3 separate regions of the Homo sapiens genome follow, and regions 1 and 3 are each linked to region 2. Evidence: promoter capture Hi-C in 16 types of primary human blood cells and fetal thymus (Javierre and others, 2016). All regions are on one chromosome and are shown on one strand. Each heading gives the region's core, a stretch centred on a gene start or on the middle of the fragment in contact. The rest is flanking DNA. Distances are from core to core; before and after follow the strand shown.

What was found. Contacts are between HindIII fragments. The CHiCAGO score rates a contact against its expected background, and 5 or more counts as called.
Region 1: a contact is called between a fragment that was not itself captured here and the fragment with the promoter of ARX in region 2, in 1 of 17 cell types (fetal thymus). The highest score is 6.9, in fetal thymus.
Region 3: a fragment that was not itself captured here is called in contact with the fragment with the promoter of ARX in region 2 in 1 of 17 cell types (monocytes); the score reaches 5.5 in monocytes.

What each region holds. Positions count from the first base shown.
Region 1 is chrX:24,368,648-24,372,619 of GRCh38, forward strand. No RefSeq gene overlaps it. Among named protein-coding and RNA genes, the nearest start is that of SUPT20HL1, 10 kb to the left of the region's middle. RefSeq lists an enhancer at 2,859-3,634. The HindIII fragment of the contact is 233 bases long and covers 1,553-1,785 here.
Region 2 is chrX:25,014,341-25,018,713 of GRCh38, forward strand. It overlaps ARX (aristaless related homeobox), which reads right to left and starts at 1,625. Exons shown (of 5, transcript NM_139058.3): 1 at 1,202-1,625. The coding sequence starts at 1,397. The HindIII fragment of the contact is 5,488 bases long and covers 704-4,373 here.
Region 3 is chrX:24,393,699-24,397,778 of GRCh38, forward strand. No RefSeq gene overlaps it. Among named protein-coding and RNA genes, the nearest start is that of SUPT20HL1, 35 kb to the left of the region's middle. The HindIII fragment of the contact is 362 bases long and covers 2,605-2,966 here.

The DNA of each region.
Region 1 (3,972 bases), core at 419-2,918, 650 kb before region 2:
TAAAATTAGTTCCTCAGTCTTGCTTGTCACATTTCAAGTGCTTAATAGCCATGTATGGCTAGTGGCTATTGTGTGGGTCAGCGCAGTTCTAGAGGGACAGGAGCAAAGCAGATTATGGGGACAGAGCATCAGGCATGACCTGGGTTTGGGGCACACAGGTGGAGTGAGATTTATGATGCTGATTGCATGTAGTGGGCTGGAGCTTCTTGAGATCCTCATGGCCTATGGTCATCTGGGCCAGGACCTGCAGGATCAAGTCGCCCCAGCCATGGAGCGAGGAGGGTGGAAAAGGTCAGTCTTTTGCCAGGCTCTGTACAGCCATATGCAAAAGACCTACCAGGAGGACACTCATTTTCCCAGCAGTCAACTCAACAACCCGTATCTACCCTAAAGTGCTTGGAACCTAAGGGAGTGGGAGAGAGGAGAGGCACTGCACTTTTTTTTCTTTTTTTTTTGAGGTGGAATCTTCCTCTGTTGCCCAGGAGAGCAGTGGCGTGATCTCGGCTCACTGCAACCTCTGCCTCCCGGGTTCAAGTGATTCTCCTGCCTCAGTCTCCCAAGTAGCTGGGATTACAGGTGCCCGCCACCACGCCCAGTTAATTTTTGTATTTTTAGTAGAGATGGGGGTTTCACCATGTTGGCCAGGCTGGTCTCGAACTCCTGACCTCAGGTGATCCACCCACCTAGGCCTCCCAAAGTGCTGGGATTACAGGCGTGAGCCACCGTGCCTGGCCGGCACCACTCTTTTATTCTTCCTTTTGCACCTCCTTCCTGTGCATCTTCTGGGTCTCTAGCTCCTCCTGCAGAAGTGAAACCTGATCAGCCATGAGTTGATAATTGTGGGAGCTGCTGGTTGATGGGTATATGGAGACTCATTATACTATTCTACTTCGGCATATGTTTGAAATTCATTTATATATGAATTCATAGATATTATATCCATTTGAATAGTCAAGTTCCTGATATTCCTACAGCCCCATTAACACACCTTCCCCCCATCCCAACCTTTATCTTGTACTCGAAGTCCAGGCCCCAGCCCTCGACTTGCCCTTCTGTCTTCCCTGCTTTACTCCCATAGCAGGCAGCAAAGGGTGTGCGAGTTAATTGTTAAATTCAGTTCAACAAGTTCCTCATTAGGGACAAATTACCTGAGTTTGAAATCTGCTAATTTTCCAATCAGAGTGAGTGTTTGCACTTATGATTTGGAAATAATTACCATATGGTAAAAGCAAAACCTATTTGGGGATTAAAGTAAAGGTGAGGGAGGACAGGAGCTTATTTTGGCAACTTCCCTGGAAACCCACGTTAGCATTTGCAGATTAGTGGAGGTGCCTCTGCAGTTGGGGTGGGAAAGCTCACCTGTAGCACTGTTTTGCAAAGGCTGTTTACTTCATGTGCTAATACCCCTGAAAGGTGACTGTGGCCTTTGAAGGGAGAGCAGTGTGGCTTTTGTAGGCCAGAATTACATCTGGGAAAGAGAAAAGCCTTTTGAATGTAGCTATTTCATCTAAAAATATATCTATACTTTTATTTAAATCTGTCCTCAGTCTGAAGCTTCTGCATGAGTTGGAAATAAAAACATTTCTTTGAGGTAGAAGGGGTGAGTCTAATTGTCCTTTGGGTGATCTCACAATGAATGTAGCAGGGAAAGTTCAACTGAGAGAATTTAAAGAATTATAGGAGAGTAATTGCTGCAGAATACCACTGTGATCCAGAGTGTAGAGATCTAGGTCATTCACCTTCAATAATTTGTCCCAGTCCCAATTACTACATCACTAGTTCTAAAGCTTTAGAAACCCCTTGGTAAAGATTAGTCAAGGTTTCAGGTAATTTACAAGCCAATGCAGAAAAACTTCTGAGATGTTGCTTTTGAAATTTGGAGCCAGGAAAAGCTTTGTCTCTCCTGAGAAGGCATCCTTCCTCCTTTCTGATAACTGTAGTTGTGCAAGTTCTGAGGTTTCTCTTTGTGCCTCAGCTGCCGGGAAACTCAAAACCAAATTTGTAGCTCAAATCGCTGCGTTTACATTTATGGTTGGCACTTCAGCATTCCTCACTTCTTATTTTTTATTTCTACTTTACTAGTTCTTTTTATTTGTCTTTTGTCTTGGGAAACTGGAAACAGCCCCCTCCATGTGTCAACACATCCATCAATAAATAGTAGCTTCTATTCATTTATATATGCTGCCTCTAATCCTTTTAATAACCTAGTCATAATGTCCATTAGGTATGATTATCCTTACTTGCAAGTGAAGAAACAGGCTCAGATAGTCCTTGCCTGAGGCAATAAAGCTATTAAGTGGCACAATTTTTCAGCTCCCTTTCTGTCTGCTTCTGAAGTCTATGCCTTGTGCCTGGGTACATGTAACTGATGCATTGATGAGTCTCAACTCAGTGGTGGACTATACAGGTGAAACCATTTTATTTTTCCCAACCACTGCTTTCAACCATGCAGCACCAAGTCCCTTTTCCCATCCTTTAATGACACCTTGGGTGGACCTCATGACTTGCTGGGCTCTCTTGTTTGGTAAAGCTGACAGTCCCAATTACAATTTCAATATCGTATTCTCTGGTCTGGTGGGTGGGGGAGGACGAGAGAAGGGAGAGAGAAATCTTCCTGCGAAAATGGTCCTTTTGCAGGTGTGATGCTCTGATTTGCTGAGTGAGGTGAAGGGTCTCTGAGCACGGGGCTGGTTCTTTTTTCTGCGGCGACGGTGTTGAACTTCACTTGGATTCTGACTCCTCTGGGGCCTCTTGAAGAGCGGCTCTCTTAGTAAGCCCTGCTGTGCTCCTTCCTGTGGAGCCTTTCCAAATTCAGAAGCTGTGGGCTCACGGGATCAAGGTGGAAGTGATGCTCCCATTTGCTTTCCGGGCACACCGCCCCTCAGTACCTTTTGAACCGCTCACGTTCAGATGTCTCTAGACCACAAGGGGGCACCAGACTCCAGGTTCACATACAACACATCCCTCAAAGAATATGCGTCAAGCTCGCCCACAGTTTCCAAGGCTCCAGGGTGGTCCAGTGTGGGCCTGCGGGTCTGTGCAGCTCCACACGAGCCCAGGCAGTAAAACTGGATGCCAACTTTGCCTTCATGCAGACCTCCGACTCTCCAGGAGCGACCCTCTTAGAGGTCTCCCTTCTACATACAACTCTTGGCTTGGGAGAGCAGGGGAGTCCCAGCACTCCTTTCCTCACCCCTTCCTACTCTGTCCCAAGAAAAGAAAAGCTCCCCCCTCCACCCCAGGAACACTCAACTTCTCTCCCTCCCCTTCCCATCCTCCCGTAGCTACAGAGGCTGGAAAAGAGTGGTTGAAGGGAACGGTCAGAGTCCAAATAGGGCCAGTTCTGCCATCTCTTAGTACTCTCTGAGAACGTGTCTGCTGGCTGGTTGCAGCCCCTCGTTAGGATGTGGGAGCACCTGATGCTTTTTGTTTCCACCTTTGGCAACTCTGGGACAACAGGAAAAGTCCTATCATGCGTGAGCGCCACACACACACGCGCGCGCGCGCGCACACACACACACGCACGCACATACACAAGCACACACACGCACGTGCACACAAGCACGCACACACGCACGCGCGAACACACGCACGAGCACACACACACACAGTGCTTCCCAGCCTTCTCCCATCCTTGCCTATTTAAGATCTCTGGCTTTGCCCTCCCAATTTCCAATGGGAAAGAGCAGAAGGAAAAGCGATGAGGCCTATGGCTGGTGAGACAGGTTTTGGAAGGACTGTTTTGGGTGAGTCTGATAAACTCTAACGAGTTTATTGTAAGACTTGAGAAAGTCAGTGTGAAGCGGGAGGCAGCTTGAGAAACTTTAGCTCTCTACGCCTGTCTTCGCTATGGAGCGCATTCTTTGATATGGAAAAGTGATGCTTCTAAGAACTGTGTAAAGTGTTATGCAAATAGAGCTTCAAAACAAATCCCCTAATGCCCTGCCTTCTTCTAAGCAGGATTACTCTTGG
Region 2 (4,373 bases), core at 375-2,874:
AAAAGAAAATCACCACTATCCTGAAAACTTTGCGCATGACCTCTGCCCGCTGCTCCACCATGAGGGCAAGGGTTGGCAAGAGGGGTGCAGCCCTGAAGGCGACCGCTGCGGGGCGGGGTGGGGGAAAGCGGCCCTGTGGCCCCAAGTGCAGGCCGCGCCCCAACAGCCCACAGCGGGAGAGGGTGGGGGGGCTTCTTGCACAAAAAGGCAAAGAAAAATCATCCTGGCAAAAATGTTCTGGGAAAGGTCTGGGGCAGAGAGGGAGTGGGAGTGCAGCAGGCGCAGGCCGCTCCTTCCTTTTGAGGAAGCGCCTGGCATAGGTGCCACTGCAGGCTAAAAAAAGAAAAGAAAAAAGTCAGTTTTATTTAAATGCCCCCTTCTCAACCGTCTGCTCCTGCCATCCAAATTGCGCTATGGCCGGACCGCTGGTTTTTGGATTTTAAAAGAAACCAACAGTTCTTTCCTTTCCCTGCGACACCTCTGCAGCAAGCTCGAGGCGAAACTTGAGGATAACAGGTTCGGGGTAAAAGGACATTTGTTCTGGAATTTTTAATTTCAGAAAAAAATAAAATATTTTAAACAGCTCGTCTATTTTAAAAAATAAAATAGCAGAGAAAAAATTAGCATCCAGAAGTCACACATTTCATACATTTTAAATACATTAAGGAGCATTTGGAGAATCCCAGGAAGATGTTTTCTGCAAAGCTTGGGTTTAAAAGGTCACAAGTAATCTGCAATTAAAAAAATAAAACCAAAACATTGCATATACAGAAATCTTCCAAAGAGGAAAGGCCAAGGCTCACTCAGCCTGGAGACCCCGATTCACCAGCTTTTGGGCTTCTTGTCTTCATCAAGTTGGTGCTACAAGGGTCCACCGGCCATCTACTGTTTCTGACCTGTCGCCGCTCTTCAGAGCACACCCAAGGCCACCAAAAGGGGCATTTAAACAACCTAACGATCAACACCGAAAAGCTAAAGGCTCCCTAAGCGAAAACGGGCCTTTTTCTGGAAGCAGGGAGGGAGGGAGGGAGAGACAGCCCTGGCTAGATGTTTAACGCTCTTTGAGGCAGCAGGCCTCAGAGTTATGCCCTCTCCTTCCTTCCTCTCCAAATTGACAATTCCAGGCCACTGGCCCCCGAACACCAAACATCCAAATCAGGGCCCAATGCCCTTAGTAAGTGCCTGACGGGAGCATCCTTACCTTGCACGGCCTTTTCCGGGTCGGCGCGGCTGGTCAGCGGAGCAGGCAAGCTCTGCGCGGCTCCCAGCAACCGCATTTTGCACGGGCTCCTCCGGCCCAGGATGCTGTCGATGCAGTAGGAGGAGAGCAAAGTTGGAGATTTACTTTTGCACTCGGGCCTCTCGGAGCAGCCCTCCTCCTGGTACTGATTGCTCATGGCTGGGGCTTTTTCCCAGGGCGCAGAGAGCGGATCGCCGGCTGCCTCTCCCGGAGGGTGGGATGGATGGGTGTGTGTTGGGGGTGGGGTTAGATAGCGGGTTATAACGGATATTATTGCGATCTTTGTGCCTTTCTGCCTCCCTTGGTTGCCGGCTGCCGGCTCCCGCCCTGCCCGCGGCCCGAGCTCGCCCTCTCCGCGCTCAGGACAAGCGGTAACAAGTGTAGTGAGCAGCGGGCGCTGAGCTCTGGAGTCTCTCTCCTCCACGTGCTGAGAGGCGCCCTCTGATTGGCTCTCGCCAGAGGCCGGGCTGCGTCGGCCTGTGGGCGCGGCGCAAAGCCCGGACTGGATTCCAGAGGGGCAGGCGGGGGTGGGGGCAGCGGGCACGCACCAGAGCCAATTTTCCTTTTCTTTCTTTCTTTTTTTAAGTTACCAATTTTCTAAGTCCGCTATCCTCTTCCTGCAGCTCCTCCTTTGACCCTTTAGTGTTGGCCGAAGTTCTAGCTTATTGGGATGCCAGGCCTGTGAATGCCATCTGGGTGGCGTGCGCCCCTTCCACCAACCCGAGGACCTCGCTCCCTGGAGGCGAGGCCTCGAGGCTCACGTTCAGACTCACTCGGCACTTTTCAAAGCCGATATTGGGCTCCCAGGACACCGCCTTGACCTCCCTGGCGCTCAATTGCCGTCCTCTCTAGGCCGGACGGGCGTCGGGGGGCCAGGGTGACCGCCCCAAGCAAACATCTGCCGTCTGGGAGTTCGCTTTTCTCTTGCGGCCCAAGGCATTGCGCTGTCTATCTTCACCCTGAGCCCGACTGTGTCTCTCTTGTTTGTAGCGTCCCCCAACCGCTCTCCTCTCCGTTTTAAACTCTGGAATGGGAAAAAGCCTCCTTACAGACAAAGCTCTGCCATAGGCGCGCGGCCTTCCCTAGAGCATTTACTGGGTGGGAAGGGACAGGCGAGTATCAGCAGCGAGGAGGGGCGACTGGGGACGAGTCTGGGGGCCTCCTCTTTCTCCCTGGACTCTCTTCCCTCTTTCCCCCACAAATTCGTATCTGTTAGGCCTTCACCCTGAGGCTGTTCACCTTCCAATCGCAGCTAGGGAGCAGAACCCTCAGGGATCCCTGACCTCTCCAGGGTGGAAGGAACCCAAATTCGGCTGCAGCCAAATCTAAGCGTCTAAAATTCTGAATTCTCATGACCTGGCTCCCTTGAGCAAAGGTGAGAGAGTGAACCTTAGAGAGAGCGCCTTTCTTCCCAAACAGTTTCCAGCGCCGAGAACTAAAACCCAACTCCAACTGATGTTGGGTCGAGCCTGGGCCAGCACGGACGCCTTCCCTGCCTGGGTGCAGGTTCCCAGGGATTTCCAGGGGCCCCAACGCTGGCAGAATTGGGGCGAAGGTGGTGGGTGAGAGAGGGGCCAGGGAGGGGGAATCCACGCCGGGTTTTCCTCTCTCAACTCCCTTCAATGTGTCAAAGAGAAAAGCATTTTACAAAGGATTATACTTGAATCACTTACAGTCAGTATTTAAAAATACAAGGATGCATAACTGGGATTTTTTTTTTTCAGCCATAAACATCTGCATAACTCTTGGATGCTGGTGGGTGGGTAGCAGACAGATCGGGCTGCCTCCGCAGGAAACTTCAAGACAAAACTGGGGGGAGGGGATGAAGGGTTGGGAACAGGCACATTAATAATGCGAATACTAATACTGATACTACTACTACTATTAAAGACAGGACAAAAAGAATTCCTCTGTCCCTCTCTCTCTCTCTCTCTGGCTTTTAGCTTAATTCTCATCCGTTTTTTTCTGCACTTGGATGATAGGGCGGGCTGTGGTGGGGAGCGGAGGAGAACCCGAGCCATCGCTGACATTTGATTTTCCTTTAAGCCCTCTCTGCGATTCAAAGTCACCTGGGATCTCTCCTTGCCTTTCCCGCATTCTTCCTTTTCCATCCCCACCAAGAGTTCGGTGTTTTTACACCGTCCGGTTCAGCTTTAAACTAACATTCTGCGCGCTGATTTCCTCCCACATTCCCTCCCCCGGCCCCGAAAGCCCATTCCAGGCGCGCGGGTCTCATCGCAGCCAAGAGGAGTAAAGACACTTCGGTTTCCTCCTAGCCTCCAGCCGCGGACCCTCGCGGGCGTCCCTGCGGCTTGGTGGTTGGGAGAGACGGAGGCACTTTTCCCTCCCCGGCGGGCCCCGCGTTGGAAATCCACAAGACCCGGCTGCCGGGTGGCTCAGTGACTTCAGAGTCGGCTCCGCACACGCAGGGAGTGGGCTGAAAATGAGTCCAAGAAAGATCGTGTTAAACAAAAACACAAATGCACAAATCATTTCTGAGAGCCCAACGGAGTTTCAGCTCTCTGGGTGGAAGACTTCTTTGCCTCCATCCCCCCTCCTCCCCCTTGTGCAGCTGTTCTTCTTTTAAAAGAAGTCGGACTTTCTGCTGGGGTGTATTCTAATTTTAATCATCCACTGTAAAAGGGGAGGTTAACAAAGAATTTCTGATTCTGACTTAATGATCCCTGGAATTAGATCTAATTCTATTAATGGAATATAAAGTGTTTTCGGGGGAGACCTGTGTGAAAACACTAGTTTTATTTGTTCTGTTATTTTATTTATTTTTGTTATTTTCTAATCAATCTTCCCAAGTGAGGATGCTATTGGGAAACACGTCCATTCACCTCGGGGAGAAGGGCCTGACCTAGCTCACTCTACACCCAGTGGCCCTGAGACCACCTTTGTCACAATCCAATACCCAACTTCAAAAATCTACAATTAACTTTTGCTATTTCTAAGAGATTAAATTTAAAAAATTACAGAAAACTTTTCTAAGGTGCTGGGTAGAGAGACATAAGACTGTGCTGTGGTCTCCACAATGCCTAATCAGGATATGGGATTATATATATATATATATATATATAAAATATGTTATTCTATATATCATTTTAGAAACAAAATTATGCGTCTAATA
Region 3 (4,080 bases), core at 1,536-4,035, 620 kb before region 2:
TGGAGAGTCCAAAAACCAGAGATGAGCAAGAGAAAATGATTGCTGAAGAATTGTTCATAATATATAACCACAGAGGAAGCTGGAGAGGAGAGGAATGGGGTGGATCTAAAGAAGCCGTCGAGGCTTCAGCTCTTCAATAGCTTTGATTTTGAAGGGATATGTATAGAAACAGAAACCAGACATCAGTAAAGAATCAACACAAATCATGTCAAAAGTTTATCAGATTGGAAATCAAAAGATAGAATGGCCCAGATTTTCAGAAAGTCTAATGTCAGCAATACAAAAATCATTTGTGCTACATTTAGACCAGAAATAAAATAAGGAGAAAATAGGTCTGCTTGGGGTGAGTGAAGTGATACAAGCAAAAGACCACGAGAAAGAACCGTACAATTCCTAGTTTGTTTCCCCCTTTTTCTTATTGTTTATTAAAGAGAATGCTCTTTAAACTGGAAATGGTGAAAGACTCTTGGTTAAAGAAGAGAGAGAGGCAGAAATAGAAAAGAGTGTGAGTGTTTTGAACAAGTTCAAATAAGGCAATCTGTAGGTGGAAGGGGCTGTCATTGGGGGTAGTGCATTCAGTTTTGTATGTCAAGTTTTCAAAGAATCACTGTCTCTTATAAAAAGGGGACAGGGTACCTGGGAAATGAGGTCTCTGAAAGTCATGGCAAGTGAAAGCTGTAAGTGCTAGGTAGGTATAGTCTGGCAAGGGGGAGACATGGAGGAAGGACATCAAGCTAACACAAAAGATGCAAAGGGATGACATTTGGAAAAGGTCTGGACCAGGCTGTGGTAGGGTAGAGAGTAGAACTAAGCCCAGTGGGTTGACATTCCATTGACAGTCCAACGCAGTATGAAACTTCTGAATGCTTAGAAGCAATTAGCATTAAACAACTGCCTCAAGGTAGTGGTGTCTCTACAACAGTAAAGTTTAACCTGAGAGTAACTGAATCTGTCAAGGCTGTTGTAGACAGAATTTTTGTAGAGGATATGAGGCTAGGATCTCAAGCATTCTTTCTTTCTTTTTTTTTGAGACAGAGTCTCACTCTGTCGCCCAGGCTGGAGTGCAGTGGCACGATCTTGGCTCACTGCAACCTCTGCCTCCCGGGTTCAAGTAATTCTGCCTCAGCTGCCCGAGTAGCTGGGATTACAGGTGCCTACCACCATGCCCGGCTAATTTTTGTATTTTTAGTAGAGATGGGGTTTCCCCATGGTCAGGGGGTTTCCCCCCTGACCATGTTGCCCAGGCTGGTCTCGAACTCCTGGCCTTAAGTGATCTGCCCACCTTGGCCTTCCAAAGTGCTGGGATTATGGGCATGAGCCACCACGCCTGGCCCCAAGCATTAGTTCTTAATCTTCTTTAGGCCACGGACTCTTTTGATAATCTGATAAAAATGATAGATTCTCTATGTATTAAAATGCCGGTATGTGCCAACACTACTCTTTATGTTCAATTTCAAGGAGTTCATTTTTCCTAAAGCAGGACTATGGTCCCCAGCTTAAGCCCACCTCTAAAGGGATTCTTCTATCTCTAAAATGCAGCGATTCTAAGTCCTTTCTATAGAAGTTGTATTTTCATGAATCTTTCCTCAGTGACCCTTTGTAAACCTTTTTTTTTTTTTTTTTTTTTTTGAGACAGAGTTTCACTCTTGTTGCCCAGGCAGGAGTGCAATGGCGCGATCTCGGCTCACCGCAACCTCTGCCTCCCAGGTTCAAGCAATTCTCCTGCCTCAGCCTCCCGAGTAGCTGGGATTACAGGCATGCGCCACCACGCCCGGCTAATTTTGTATTTTTAGTAGGGACGGGGGTTTCTCCATGTTGGTCAGGCTGGTCTCGAATTCCTGACTGCAGGTGATCTGCCCACCTCGGCCTCCCGAAATGCTGGGATTACAAGTGTGAGCCACTGTGCCCGGCCTGTAAACATTTTTATGGCTTGATACAAAAAAAGGGGGGTGCTGAGTGTGCTATTTTATGAAACTAGCTGAATGTTCAGGCCGACCAAACATTCTGTCTCCTGATGTATGACTTCCACATTATGGCAGCACTTAAAAATTTTAAACCATCTCTCAGCACCTGTGTGTTTGACACCCACCACACACTATCTAATGCCAAGTCGCAAAGGTTCAACTTTGTAAATCGAAGGACTGATTCAACTTTGTAAATCAAAGGACTGATTCACAGTTATTTGCCTCTTGTTTCCAGCTGTGGTCTGCATCAGGTCGAAGAAATGTTGTAATACACAGAAGCACCACAAGATGACACCCTTGGGAAAGTCTTGCTTTGCAGGTTGGTTTCCCAGCTCTGACGTCTATTCTAAACATAGCCTTACAAAATGCTTGTGGAAGAGGGAAGAGAATCTATTACTGGGGAGGAAAAACACCAATGACAAAACAACCCTGGCACTTTCCTGAGTTTTGGGATACAGAGTCAAGTCTTGATTACTTTCTTCTGCTTCTTAATTATCAGTTTTTGCAGGCAGACACATAGATTTATGTAACACATAAGCATATCTTTCATACACATCTATTTTCTGCCGATGCTGATGCTCTATGTGATTTAGAAGCTGTTCATAACTTGGGAGAAGAGCCTTTCTTCTTTTGTATTGTAAGCTTTCACATCCACTTTTTTTATTGCCTCTGTCCCCTACTTCACTGTCAGTAAGAATATTGGGTTTGCATGGAAACATCATAAAATGCCTTTATGGAAAGAGGAAAGTGTGGTTAGACCAGCTTTTTCTGCCATGAATATCAGGCCAACTGGAGAGAAGATCAAAGCGAAAGGTGAGGGCAGAGTGGGCTAGGATGGAAAGCGGGATTACTCACTGAAATTGACATGTCTGTTCAATCCTTTTGCTCCCTCCAAATTTTTCTTAAAAAAGCAATTAAAAAAACCCCATGTTCATGCTACATTAAGCCTCATGTTTCCATTTCTCATTTTACTGCTTGAGTGGCACTTGCTATCACTTGGTAAGCTTACTTAAGAGAGGGAACAATGTCGATTAGAATACAGTTGTCTGTGTTGAGTAAGAGCCCTCCGTTGGTTTGTGGTCTTTGGCAGGCAGCTAGTAAAAATAATAAGCTCTGAACAGATGCCATGTTTCTTTGGCGAATGGTTTTGGCCAGTCTTCTTTTCATTTTTGTACCTGCAAGTGGAAAATTACTGCTTTAATGAGCTATGTTACCCAGTGGTAAAAATGTTTGAAATTACCCAATGGAGGAAAGCAGTCTTTTGAAAGATTTGTGAGAAGAGGTAATACAAAACCCCAACAAATTCCACTGGGAAATTCTTTTCTTACATTTTATTTCAAGGATAGTTCTGCTAGAAACCTGTATTTCTGAGCAAAGAGCTGTGAAACTGAATTCCAAACTAGTTACAACTGTGGGGAACAAGGCACATAGTCATTTAGAGAGCATCTTTCCTGGCCTGGCTCTGTGCTGGGCATTACTGGCAATGCAGGGATTAAAACGACACTGTTTCTCTCCTCTGGGAGCTTCCAACCTAATGGGAAAGACAAACATACAGAGACCCCATGTTATGCCTGGAATTATAGTTGAGTGCCAAGAGCAAAATAAAATAAAAGTACAGCTCTGCTTGGCTGGGTCTGGCTGCAGCAACTCAAAATCTACTAATATGCAGACGTTCGCAAAGTCAAATTATCTTTTGTCCTTGAAATCTAAGTAGCTGGCTGGATGTGGGTTATTTTTTTTCCTTCTTTTTAATACTTTTCTGTTCTTTGTTGTATTTCTAAAATAAGCATGTTTAGTTTGTTGTTGTTTTTTTTTTTTTTTTGCCCTCTTCATAAAAGCAAGTTGAGTCTGAAAAGGAAAATGTACACTTTTTTTGGGTAATAGTCATAATAATGTTACAAAAGCAAACATTTCCTTAGTGGTTACTATGGTGCCAGGTACTGTTCTAAGTGCTTTTATATATCAACTCATTTTAGTCCTCACAACCACCCTATGAGAGAGGTGCTATTATTACACCCATTTTATAGAGGAACATATGGAGGAAAGGTAACTTGCCCAAGGTTACGCAAGGAGTTAAGTGGCTGAGCAGGCTGGCTCCAGAGTCCAAGCTGCCTAA